Regions from separate parts of the Homo sapiens genome. Here region 1 is linked to region 2. The links are contacts of gene promoters, found by promoter capture Hi-C in blood cells and fetal thymus (Javierre and others, 2016). All regions are on one chromosome and are shown on one strand. The core of a region is centred on a gene start or on the middle of the fragment in contact, and the rest is flanking DNA. Distances in the headings are between cores, read along the strand shown. Region 1 overlaps INSIG1-DT (INSIG1 divergent transcript). Region 2 holds the start of ESYT2 (extended synaptotagmin 2).

Region 1 (6,525 bases), core at 2,850-5,349, 3.5 Mb after region 2:
CATGACAATATTTAATATTAATAGATTTATGTGTTGTCTCCAGAATGGAAAGGGGCTGTCTATTCCTTGAGCTAGTTGGCTTGCTAAAGACTATTGACTTCATTCTTCTTTTCCTATCTACCTAATAAACCAGTGTTCATACAACCCAGCCTCTCTGACTCTGTCCCTCCTCTCATCTGTACTGGGACATTATGAACCATGGAAGATCCTGGAGTCATAGAGGCACCCTGTGGCTCTGTGGCTGTTGCACTTACACCGACCAAGATGTCCCGTGGGAATGTGGGAAGGTTGCCCGTGGGGTTCCTGCTGAGGGCCTCCAGCGTGGCCTCTGAGTCGTAGGTAGAGATTGTCACTGCGTTCCCAATGTGTGTTTGCCCAGGTGCCTGTGGAGTCTGGCCCCATGAAGAAATGCAGCCTGGGGTAAAGACAGTGGGAGAGTTTGAGTTTACCCCCTTGAATACCCCCTTTGAAGACCGAGCCTCCATATCAGTAACCACATTCCAAGATTTTCAGGGGTTGAAATTTGCTTATCCTCAAGCAAAGCTGTTGTTGATTTTGTTTCCCTGCTAATCGTGGGCCGTGTGTTGAAGATAATGGGGTTCATTCTCTTCAGCCCCTGTCAGCCACTCTGAGTTCAGCATTTAGGGAAATCTGCTCATGATGGCACCGTTTAGTTCTTAATTGCCCCACAATACAGAAATCATCACAGATGTGGCCTTACTCTAGGGGAGTTGACTATTGTTGAGTTAAACACCTCGCCGTGCCTTCCCAGATCACTAAGTAACCCTCAGACTGGTGGCCTCTGTACTGAACAGGCTGGCGGAAGGGAGCACAGGACGGCTGTAGCTCTTTCGGATACGGAAGAATCATGCACTCATAAAGGCCTAAAGACTGGGAGGTGTCACGTAGTGAGCAATCTTGCCTTTAGTCTGTTCTTACTGTTCTTTTTATTATAACATTAATAACCATTTGTAAGAAATATTCTTAAGATAAAGTAGATTACCAAATATATATTTTTTCATATAAAAGCATCACATGCTCATTGTAAAACATCGTGGAAAAATATATTTTAAAGAAATAGTCTATAATCCTACCAACTAGAGATGACCATTGTTAACATTTTGAGGTATGTATTTCCAAATATTTTTTCTATCCATAAATGTGTTTAAAAAAACACAAATAGGATCAACTTCACATTAGTGGAACCAGTTATTAAGTGATCATGAACGTCTTTTAAAGGCAATCAATACAGACTACGCCATTTTTTAATAGCTTTAGTGAGGGCGAATTCATGCATTGTGCAATTCACCCATTTAAACGGTGAATTCAGTGTTTTTTTGTGTATTCACAGAGTTGTACAACTATCATCACAGTCCATTTTAGAACATTTTCATCACCCCAGAAAAGACCTTCATATGCTTTAGTTATTGCCTCCTTATCCCGACTTCCACCCCCAGCCCACGGCAACCACTGATCTACTTCCTGTCTCTATGGATTTCCTGTTCTGGACATTCGTATGAATGGAATCGTATAATATGTGATGTTTTGTGACTGGCTTTGTTGACATAATGTTTTCAAGGTTCATCCATGTCATAGCATATGTCAGCACTTCATCCCTTTTTATGGCTGAATAATGTTCCATTGTATGGAGAGGCCACATTTTGATTATCCGTTCACCAGCTAGTGGACGTTTGGGTTGTTCTCACTTTTCGGCTATTACGAATGATGTTGCTATAAATGTGCACAAGCTCATCCATGTGGGTGTAGCTCTTCATTTCTCTTGGGTGGAGTTACTAGGAGTGCACTTGCTGGGTCACATGGTAACTCTATGTTTAATCATTTGAGGAACTGCTGGACTTTTTCCAAAGCAGCTGCATGATTTTAAACCTCCATCAGCAGGGTATGAGGGTTCTGATTTCTCCACATCTTTGCCAACACTTGTTATTCCTTGAGTTTTTGATTCTAGCCATCTCAGTGGATGTGAAGTGGTATGTCATCGTTTTCAAAAGCAGAATAGTGTTTGTCTATGAAGGGAAGTGCCTTAGCTTACTTGCCATGAAAGCACAATCCCCCAAGAGTGAGGGAAAGAGGTGAGTGAAGCAGTGAAGGAGAAGCTATGGTGAGGGTCACCTCACTGAGCCGACCATGGCTGTTGCGTGACATGTGGTTGCTAGTCACACAGGGTACCTTCTGTACAGGCTGTGGAGACCCACCATGCCTTGCAAGAACAGTCCTTTGGGGGAAAAGAAAGAAAAGAAATGCATCTGGTAGCTCTCTATCTTCCGTCTCTTACTGGCCCCAGTTTACCCCTCCTTCATTAACTCTTTCAGTTTTCCTGATTCTAATACAGTCATACACTGCACGATGACATTTCCATCAGTGATAGGCTGCATATACGATGGTGGGCCCATGTAATGCCATATGTTTACTGCACCTCTTCTACGTTTAGATATGTGTAGATGCACACATCCTCGCCATTGGGTTCCACTTGCCCACAGTATGCAGTACAGTCACATGCTGCACAGGTGTACGAGGAATGCCCTCCAGCCTAGGTGTGTAGTGGGCTCTACTGTCTCAATTTATGTAAATGCACTCAATGGTGTCTGCATGAAAAATCTCCTAACAATGCATTTCTCAGAATACATGCTCGTTGTTACGCGACACATGACTATACTCAGCCCCACGCTGCGGCTGATGGGACAACCAGATTCCACAGCCAACAGTGGACTCATCCTCAGAGCCCCAAGTGGTAAGAAGACCCCAGAGCTGCTTCTGCAAGTCAAGTTGGTCAGACTGTCCATGCCTATATTGATCACTGGAAAGGGGAGTAGAACAGTTATGATTGGCAGAGAGATGACCCTCCAATGTGAAGAGCTGTTGGTGAATCCATCGCAGAGACCACTGCAGATGGTGACTCTGCATTGGAGTGGAGGGTGGGCCAAGGCAGACTGTGTAGGATGAGAAGTCAGTGTGCCTCGTACAGCCCTGAGGCTGGAGCAGAGGAAAGGGGCTGCCAGGGGCAGTGGCAGAAGGTCCAGTAAGATAGGAAGAAAGTGTGCGACCAAGAAATCCGGGGGGGGGATGTTCTGGAAAGGAGAAAGTGGCAGCCATGGCATGCAAGACAGAGACCAATCATGTCTGGGGGTCCTGTGATGTGGTCAGCAGGAAGCTCGGTGTGAGTGGCCTGAGTCACGGGGGAAGCTGCGCTTCCATGAGATAAGGAGACAAGGAAAATGAGGCTGCCAGTGAAGATCCCTCTGGAAGGGGTCTGGCTGTGAGAAGGAGGGGAGAGATGATGGAAGCTGGAGGAGAGAGTGATGGGGAAAGAGTTTAGTTTGTCTGTCTGTTTGTTTGTTTATTTTGAGACAGAGTCTTGCTCTGTCAGCCAGGCTGGAGTGCAGTGGCTCGATCTCAGCTCATGCAACCTCCACCTCCCTGGTTCAAGGGATTCTCCCTCCTTAGCCTCCCACTCAGGATTACAGGCACCTGCCACCACACCCGGTTAAGTTTTGTATTTTTGTAGAGACAGGGTTTCACCATGTTGGCCAGGCTGGTCTTGAACCCCTGACCTCAGGTGATCTGCCCGCCCAAAGTGTTGGGATTACAGGCATGAGCCACGGCGCCCAGCCTGTTTTGTTTTAAAAAATGAGAGACGTGAACAAATATAAACGCTGATGGACCCAGTAGAAAGATTGAAGAAGAAGGGCAGGGCGTGGTGTCTCACGCCTGTAATCCCAGCACTTTGGGAAGCTGAGGCAGGTGGATCACGAAGTCAGGAGTTCGAGACCAGCCTGACCAACATGGTGAAACCCCGTCTGTATTAAAAATACAAAAATTAGCCAGGCGTGGTGGCACATGCCTGTAATCCCAGCTACTCGGGAGGCTGAGGCAGGAGAATCGCTTGAACCCAGGAGGTGGAGGTTGCAGTGAGCCGAGATTGCTCCATTGCCCTCCAGCGTGGGTGACAAGAGTGAGACTCTGTCTCAAAAATAATAATAATAAAATAAAGAAAGACTGAAGAAGAGGGAGTGAGAGCAGGCAGTGGAGAGTGAGGTCCCTGAGGAGAAGATTAGAGGAGGAGATTGGTGTCTAGGACCAATCCTAGTGGGGATTCCTGGGCAGGCACACCCTCTACTGAGGAAGTAGGTGGGAGAGATGGGGGCGGTGTGGTGGGGTCGCCTTCCCCTCAGGAAGTTTCTGTCATTTCTGAAGAAGGAGGAGAGCTCCTGAGTTAAGAGGGAGACAGGAGCGATTGGAAACTGGGAGTGTAAACCCTTTGGTGTGGAGTGCCTGGTGGAGGTTTGTGATGGCGACTTCACAGGGCCCAATCTGCAGGGTGGCGTGGGAGTTCTTCTCTACGACACTCCAGGCTGGGTAGCAATGGCAGAGCATTCGAGGGGCCTCTAGAATTGGTTTTTTCCTGGTGGTGCCAAGGAGGGGCAATGGAGCAGTGGAGGGCAGGTTAGCGGCAGGCGGCTGGTGGCGTCATGGAACCTGGGTCAGGTGAAATGGAGGTGAAAGGAGTATGCCGGGAGGAAGAGGGCCCCACAGAGGGAAGGGTCAGTGTGTAGAGGCTTGCCCTATGTGAACACTGGGTATTGGCCCTACAAGGGTAGCAATATTCATTGATTAATGCAACCCAAGCTCCCACAGATTCATTACTGGATGGGTGATCTGAAGGCGAGAGCCTGGGCAGGAGGAGGCTGTGTGGGCACATGGCGTCAGGGGAGAGCCACTGCAGAGGGTGGCAGTCCCCACGATGAGCCTGGGATTGGGTGGCTGGAGTGGTGTGGAGTGAGTCACCAGGGCCAAGGAGGTCAGGGAACCCAGAGGCGAGGCCTTGGATGAGTCATGCTTGAGTGGGACGAAGTCCTCAGCACAATGACAGGTTTGGGATATGGAGACAGACTGTGTGTCAGGTGTCTGAGTCCCTGGGGAGTGAAGGCAGCAGATAGCAGTGGCAGAGGGGGTGCACTGGGTGGGATGGTGTGCCCCCAAATTCATGTCCTTCTGGGAACCTCAGAATGTGACCTTATTTGGAAATCGAGTCTTTGGAGATGTAATGAGTTAAGATGAGTTCCCACTGGAGTAGGGTGGGCCCAAATCCAACATGACTGTTTCCTCCTAAGAAGAGGAGGTGAGACCCAGAGACAGACATGCAGGAGAAGCCGTGTGAGGACGGAGGCGGACATGCGCCATGGTTTGCTGGGAGCCACCAGAGGCCGGAAGGAGTAAGGAAGGATTGTCCCGTAGGGCTCTCACAGGGAGCAGGGCCTGGAAACACCTTGCTTTCAGCCTTCTGTCCTCCGGGACTGGGAGGGATGTGGAGCATGGAGCAGGAAGGAGTGAGGGGCGGAGGGGCCAGGGGCTTGCCACCTGTGTGGTCATGTCAGGCCTTGGCCCCACGGTCGGTGGCTACCACCCAAAATATAGACACACCATATAATCTGTGTTACTCAATTTCACGGCACCTGAAAGATGAGTGTTCTCTCTATCTGGTGAAGAACGTGAAGAAATGGAGTCCTGAAGCAAGCAATGTGCTCAAAGCTGTGACAATGCTGAGGGGCAGAGCAGGGGTTCAGATCCAGCCTCCCTGAGTCCATAGCTGGGCTCCCCGCACCCCCATTGCTCTCACCCCTGGAGTTCCTGCTGTGCCCCAGGCACTGTGCTAGAGATACACAAGGGCTCTTGCTGCATGGTCCTGGAGCTGCTCACAAACTAATGGGGGAGAAGGACCTAGGAGGAGGCTCCCGGCACTGCTGTGACAAATGACCACAAACACGGTGGCCCTGCACAGCACGCATGTGTCATCTCAGAGCTCTGGGGGTTGGGTGCCTGAACTGGGTTTCGCTGCAGTAAGATCAAGGCGCTGGCAGGCTGGGTTCCTTCTGGAGACTCCAGGGGGTCTGTTCCCTCGCCCTTCCCAGCACCCAGAGGCTGCCTGCCTTCCCTGCTCATGGCCCTGTCGTGGTATCACTCTGGCCTCCTGCTCACTTCGAAGGGCCTGGAGTTAGGTGGGACTTGCCTGAATAACCCAGGTAGTATGAGCTGAGTGTCTGTGTCCTCCCAAATTCATACGTTGAAAGCCGCACCCCAAGGCAATGGTGCCAGGAGGTGGGGCCTTTGGGAGGTGCTGAGGTCATGAGGGTGGAGCCATTGTGAATGGGGTCGGGGCCCTGAAGAGAGAGCCCCAGAGAGCTCCCTGGCCCCTTCACCATGTGAGGATGCAGGAGAAGGCGCCATCTCTGAACTAGAAAGTGGCCCTCGCCAGACACTGTCTCCCAGTGCCCTGAGCTTGGACTTCCAGCCTCCGGCACTGTGAGAAATGAATATCTGCTGTTTATAAGCCCAGTCGCTGGTACTTTGTTAGAGCTCCCCGCATGGGCTTAGACACCAGCAGAATCTCCTCATCCCAGGATCTTTAATCGAGTTTGCAAAGTCCCCTCACCATGTAACATCACACATTCACGAATTCCAGGGATTAGACTGTGGACTTTTGGGAGCGGACTGATATTCTGCCTACCA
Region 2 (6,672 bases), core at 1,302-3,801:
TCAGTGTTCTTTTTAGCCTTCCCTCTTCCATGTTTTTACCTTCTCCAACAGCAAGAAACCTGGCTTTCACTGTCCCCAGTATATTTAATTTGCTGGTATAACCTCCAAATTGAAGAGATGCAGAGCACGTGCTCCCACCCTCCATAACGAGACGTATTTAGAGGTGTGGGGGAGGACCCAAAAGCAGGAAGAGTTGAACCTAAGCACAAGATAGCACTTTCCTCTGAAACCAGGAAGGCTGGAACTTCGCAGCTGTGCACCGGAGCACTCGGAATGACACTCCAGAGAAAGCAGCACTTCTCCTTGTCTACAAGAAGGAAAGGATGGAGGGGTCATGAAAGGTCACAGGAGATTGAGGGGTATAATATTAGCAAAAATCTAAGAGCCGAGCTGGACCTGCAGTCAGACCAGACACCTGTAAGACTGAGCTGTGGCAGAGCCTTAGGATCTGCTTTCTGCAGGCAATTAACCACAGGGAGGGGCTGGAAACCCGGGGCTCACACAGAGGGAAGCTGAGGACACTTGGGCTGACTGGTATGCAACATGGAAACTTCTCTTCAATCTAGTTTACATCCTTGGGTCAACCACTGGATGGCACATGGCACAGGATTTTTTTTTTTTTCTTGAGACGTAGTCTTGCTCTGTCGCCCAGGCTGGAGTGCAGTGGTGCGATCTCGACTCACTGCAACCTCCGCCTCCCGGGTTCAAGTAATTCTCCTGCCTCAGCCTCCCGAGTAGCTGGGACTCCAGGTGCGCGCCGCCATGCGCGGCTAATTTTTTGTTATTTTTAGTAGAGACGGGGTTTCACCATGTTGGCCAGGATGGTCTTGATCTCCTGACCTCGTGATCTGCCCTCCTCGGCCTCCCAAAGTGCTGGGATTACAGAATTTTTTACGTGGCTTATGTTTATGCAAGTCTTTGTAGGATGTGATCCTACAATTTTCCAGTAGAGGAAAGCTGCAAAAGAAAGGCTCAGGCTCCTTTCTGTGTCAACAAAGCAATTACTTGCTTTTGTGTTGAGGCTTAGTTTTGAATGAAAGGTGGTGTTAGGAGCATTAACCGGTTGCATATTTACAATCTACATAATATAATTTGTTGCTGCAGCAAACCAGGGACTGTGAAGAGTAAGAAAAGGGAAACCACTTCCATTCCTTGCTTGGGGTTTACTGCCCTTGCCTGGAGTTGAGAGTTTAGACTCTGCAATGTTTTACATATGTGATATAATCTCCACATACATATGCACACAAAATTATGAAGACGCAGGAACGAGGGGAGACAGATTCCTATGTAAAGGTGACCCTGCTTCTTCTGGGCATTTGTTTATTCATTCAGTACCTGCCAGTGCCCTACTCTGTTACAAATTCAGTAAAAATTTCCTTGGAATTCACTGAATATGCTCAAAAACAGTCAAGTAGGATGTTCTTTGCTACTGTTTGGCTTGGAGTTTCCTTGAAAGAAACTACAGAACAAATATAATTAACTCGATTGAATTCACTGGAAAGTAAAGTGATCAATAGTTGTGTTTTTGAGTTAACTGAAAAGTGACCTCAGGAATCACAGGAAAGGCCCAAAATTAGTCGTTTGAAACAGCTATTCATAGTTGGCCACAATATTAACACCTTCGGCGAAGCTGCGTGGTGCCCGGGGTGGAGTTCCCGAGTGTCAACAGCGTCCCTTGGGCGCTTGCGGTGGTCTTTGCCCGGCACTACCAGACCCCTCAGGGAGGACTTTTGGGATTAAAGGCATCTTAAAAGCCAACTGAACTGTGTGAGAGTTGTCAAGGTCACAACGGAGTCGTTTGTGTTTAAAACCCTGACAAGCAGGGTGGGAAGGGCCCCAGAGGCAGCGTTCTCACGCCGGAATGCCCGATAACAAGACCGTCCCGAGAGACTCCGCAAAAGCCACAACCTTGCACACTGGCTAGGCAACCTCACACCGAAAAATACCGGAGGACTCCCGCCAGCGGCGCCCGTCCGACCTCCGGCGGGCGGCGCCCTCTCACCCGTCCTCCTGGCCGCAAAATGACCGCAAACAGGGACGCCGCCCTCTCATCCCACCGCCACCCCGGCTGCGCTCAGCGGCCGCGCACCCCCACGTTTGCCAGCAGCTCCCAGAGGCGGTCAGCCTTTGGGTTTGACGACGGCAACTTCCCGGGCCTCGGCGAGCGCAGCCACGCACCCGGAAGCCGCCTCGGGGCGCGACGCCGAGCCAAAACCGCCCGCGGGCTCCGAGGCCACAGGCAAGTGGGGAGGGTGCCCCGTGGGGCTCGAGGGGACGCAGGCACGCCCAGCCCACGCACCGAGCACTCTCCTTTCCCGTCCCCGGCTCCCGCCAGCCGAGACACAACGCTCGCGTGATGACGTCGTGCGCCTGCCCGGCCCACTCCAGTAGTCTCCGACCCGGCCCACGGCCCGCCCCGCGCGATGACGTCAGTATCCACCCCGCCCGCTCCCGGTGACGTGCCAGCCCCAGGCCCACGCCGCTCCCGCCCCGCGTGATGACGCCACCGTCCCGGGCGGAGGCGGGCGTGCGGCGGAGCCGCGTCCCCTCAGAGGGGCGCTGGCGCGGGGCTGAGCCGCCCGGGATCAGCGCGAGCACCCAGCCCGCCTCGGCCGGGAGGGCAGCGCGGCACTGCGGGGCGATGAGCGGCGCCCGGGGCGAGGGCCCGGAGGCGGGCGCCGGCGGGGCTGGGGGCCGCGCGGCGCCTGAGAACCCCGGGGGCGTGCTGAGCGTGGAGCTGCCCGGGCTGCTGGCGCAGCTGGCGCGGAGCTTCGCGCTGCTGCTGCCCGTGTACGCGCTGGGCTACCTGGGGCTCAGCTTCAGCTGGGTTCTCCTCGCGCTCGCGCTGCTCGCCTGGTGTCGCCGCAGCCGCGGCCTCAAGGCCCTGCGCCTGTGCCGCGCGCTGGCGCTGCTGGAAGACGAGGAGCGCGTCGTGCGCCTGGGGGTGCGCGCCTGCGACCTGCCCGCCTGGGTGAGTGCAGACCCCTGCCCGTCCCGACCCCTGACCACCAGTCCCGATCTCCCCTCGTCCAGGCAGGCACTCCCCTCCCCGCGACCTGCCGCCTGGGTGAGTGCAGACCCCAGCCCTGCCCCGGCTCCCGCCTTCGTAGTCCCCCACCCACCCCGGTCCAGGCAGGCGCTTCCCTTCCGCCTGGGCGAGTGCAGACCCCAGCCCCGGCCCCCGGGCCGGTTCCTGCGACCTGCCAACCTAGGTGAGTGCAGACCCCGCCCCGCCCCCCGGCCCCGACTCCCAGCCTGCTGGCGACCTGCCCGCTAGGGCGAGTGCAGACCCCAGCCCCGCCCCGGCCTCCGGCCCACTCCCTGCGAACCTGTCCGCCTGGGGCCGCCGCCCGCTGCTCGCCGCTCCCGCCCTAGTCCTGAGTGCTCCGTGCCCTCCCTCCGTCCAAGTCGGGCGTCCCCTTCTCCGCTTCCCCGCCCGCCCAGGCTCCGGGTCCGGGGCGCGTCTGCCCTCGTGAAGCCTCCCCTCGCCGTCCCGCGCGGCTTTCTCGGAGACCCCTCTTCACAAAGCCCGCTTCCCTCCCCCGGCCTGCAGACCCCGAGCGCCAGCGGCAGGTACCGGGCTTGGCGCCCCCTCTTCGGCCGCGGCCCTGCCCGGAGCGCGCGCTTCCTCCTGGTGCCGCCCGCGGGGTCTCCTTAGGGGCCTGAGCGGCCGGTTCTGCTCTCAGAGCGCCCAGCGCGATTCTCGTGCGCATTCCCAAAGCCCTGCCGGCCTGGAAATGCTCCGGGTGGCTTCAGCTTTTCCTTCTCTCTGTTTTTTAAAAAACGTAATGACAGCTGGTGGGGGAGAAGTTAACTTTTTCTTCTACCGGGAGAAGACGCACTCGTGTCTTGGTTGTTTCTGACGCATTTCAAGGGCAGTAAGTGTCTCTCGAAAGATGTGGAGATATTAGATAATTGAAAGATTGTTTCAGTTTTTTTGCAAGTATAATTGTGAGACTGAGCATTTTTATATGGGATCGACCTGAATCCAGTGTGAATGTGTGTGTGTGTGGCAGGAAGTTTTGGAAGAGTTGCAGCAATAACAAGAGTCATGGTATTATTTTATTTTTAACCCGGCAGTTCTCTACCTCGTATATTTATGGACTATAGACACGAAGAGTTGGCTTCAAATCTTTTTCTTGTCATTCCCTAATTCTTTCTTAGCCATGACTTGGCTTCACAGTTTCACACTGCAAGAAAGGATTTTAATGATTCTTCCATTAGGCTTAATATAAACTTTGGGGTGAAGGTGACCAGCAGTGGGTTTCGGAAGGGTCATTTTCTCTTAGAGGAGAAAAGTCCCTGTTTCCAGTCATGAGACACCTGAGAAGTAAGGCATGACACAGATGGCAAACAAGAATTAGAAAGGAGGCGTGCCCAAGACAAGAAGAAGGTAGTAGATGCTACTTTGTGACGTCATATTGCAACTGGAGTAAGAATATAATGTAAGGAGCTTGGGAATGTACAGTTCTGCCGATGCGTGGTGAGCATGAGGGAGTCATATTTGGAGAACCAAGGTAACTGGCATGGTGCAGCTTTTAGCTAGCGGCGGGAAAAACCGAGGGGTGTGTAGAAAAAGGAAGTTAAGAGGAACCGAGGTGGGGAAAACTAAGAACAGAGGAGGTGCACTTTGGAAATGGAAAAGGACTTTAAAGTGACGTTTTGTGTCTATATTACACTAAGATGCATAATACTAAAAAGTAGCTAAAAACAGAGTCCATTAGCATCCATTGCTATGTTATATTGATAACATAGCAATGTTATCAGTGCTGAAATTTGCAGGAAGTGATGATGCTGACTTTCATAGATACTTGGTTATTGGCTAATATCAAATTTGCTTGTTAAAAATCTTTGTGAAACACAGATTTTCTTTTTCTTTTCTTTTTTTTTTTTTTTTGAGACAGAGCCTCTCCCTGTTGCCCAGGCTGGAGTGCAATGGCGTGATCTCGGCTCACTACAACCTCCGCCTCCAGGGTTCAAAAGATTCTCCTGCCTCAGCCTCCCGAGTAGCTGGGATTACAGGCGTGCACCATCACGCCCAGCTAATCTTTGTATTTTTAGTAGAAACAGGGTTTCACCATGTTGGCCAGGCTGGTCTCAAACTCCTGACCTTGTGTTCCGCCTGCCTTGGCCTCCCCAAGTGCAGGGATTACAGGCGTGAGCCACCGCGCCCGGCCACACAGACTGTACAGATGAAATTGCTGCCCTATTGAAGAACTGAAATTTTTTTTTTTTTTTTTGAGACGGAATCTCGCTCTGTTGCCAGGCTGAAGTGCAGTGGCACCATCTCAACTCACTGCAACCTCCGCCTCCCGGGTTCAAGCCATTCTCCTGCCTCAGCCTCCCGAATAGCTGGGACTACAGGCGCACACCACCACACCCAGTTAATTTTTGTATTTTTAGTAGAGACTGGGTTTCACCATGTTGGCCAGGATGGTCTCGATCTCTTGACCTCGTGATCCACCCGCCTCAGCCTCCTAAAGTGCTGGGATTACAGGTGTGAGCCACTGCGCCCAGCCTGAAATTCTTTAAAAAAAAAAAAAATACAAAAGTAATTTAGCCAAAGATTCTTTTCAAGTTTTTAATCTGTGTGACTTAAACTGATGAACTGTGGTGTTCACCTCATGAAGAATTTATATTTTCTCCAGAATGTTTTACTTGTTTATTCCAAATTTGTACTTGAGCTCATAATCCCACATGTGTAAACTTCAGTGTGCCTAGGATGCTTAAGACGCTTCTTGAAGGATTCACATGAAACTTGACAGTGATTATGTTGACAGTTTTAGAGAGATTTTAAAAATATCTTTTAAATTATACTTATGTATCTATTTTGTGATATTTATTAAAAGTGTAATATACTTTATTTTCATAATAAAACCAGCAGGTTGCATGGTCTCGAAGTGTGCCTGAAATTCTGCTGCGCGGCAGGGGTGGTGGGGGTGGTCAAAGCACATCAATAATAGAAGAAACTATGAATAAGAAAAGTTAAGATTTCAGTATTACTTGCACTTTGGGTTTGTTTTTGTTTTTTTTTTTTTCTAGAGATGAGTTCTTACCGCGTTGTCCAGGCTGGTCTCAAACTTTTGGCCTCGAGGCATCCTCCCACTTAGACTTCCTAAAGTGTGGGGATTACAGGTGTGAGCCACCATGCCTGGCCAATATTACTAGTACCTTGATTTTTACCATACATACATTGGTGCTTGGGGTTTCTGAACTTTGGACTGGTATTTTGCCTTGAACAAGATGTATCTGTACATCCCAAAGGCTGTACTTGTTTTCATAGTGTGTCGTTGACAACCGTGAATTCATGGCAGAGTGGAAACATAGGAAAACATGAATTAAGGAGATACTAATTTCCTCACCTCACCTTTGTATATATTCACTGACAGCTTTTCTTCTTACTGAGTAAAAACTGAAGCTGGATATGGAAATGAGATAAGAGTATTAATACTTTGAGAAACTATATGTACTGTTCCTGATTGAGGCTATTAGGATGTGACAGATGGCTCTCACTTAACTGTGATAATTCTGTAAGTTTGGTCCTACAGCTTTAATATAAACAGTGTTGTTATTCTTCACTTCTTTTCCCATGAACAGTTATGTTCCAACTGCTTAGGGGAAAGGCCTGGCAGGCTGGATGAATTGAGGACAGGGCTTTTTGTTGTTTAAGTG

Evidence for each region. The method cuts DNA at HindIII sites, captures the fragments that hold promoters and counts their contacts. A CHiCAGO score of 5 or more calls a contact.
Region 1: a contact is called between a fragment that was not itself captured here and the fragment with the promoter of ESYT2 in region 2, in 2 of 17 cell types (M0 macrophages and monocytes). The highest score is 5.5, in M0 macrophages.

The regions. Positions count from the first base shown.
Region 1 is chr7:155,289,537-155,296,061 of GRCh38, reverse strand. All of the region lies in intron 1 of INSIG1-DT (INSIG1 divergent transcript), which reads left to right. Among named protein-coding and RNA genes, the nearest start is that of INSIG1, 5.1 kb to the left of the region's middle. RefSeq lists a cis regulatory region at 4,508-5,107. The HindIII fragment of the contact is 8,705 bases long and covers 1-6,525 here.
Region 2 is chr7:158,825,388-158,832,059 of GRCh38, reverse strand. ESYT2 (extended synaptotagmin 2) reads left to right here and starts at 2,551. Exons shown (of 23, transcript NM_001367773.1): 1 at 2,551-2,971. The coding sequence starts at 2,642. RefSeq lists enhancers at 1,588-1,697, 3,708-3,777 and silencers at 2,008-2,737, 2,828-2,927, 2,978-3,167, 3,258-3,307, 3,388-3,587. The HindIII fragment of the contact is 12,010 bases long and covers 1-6,672 here.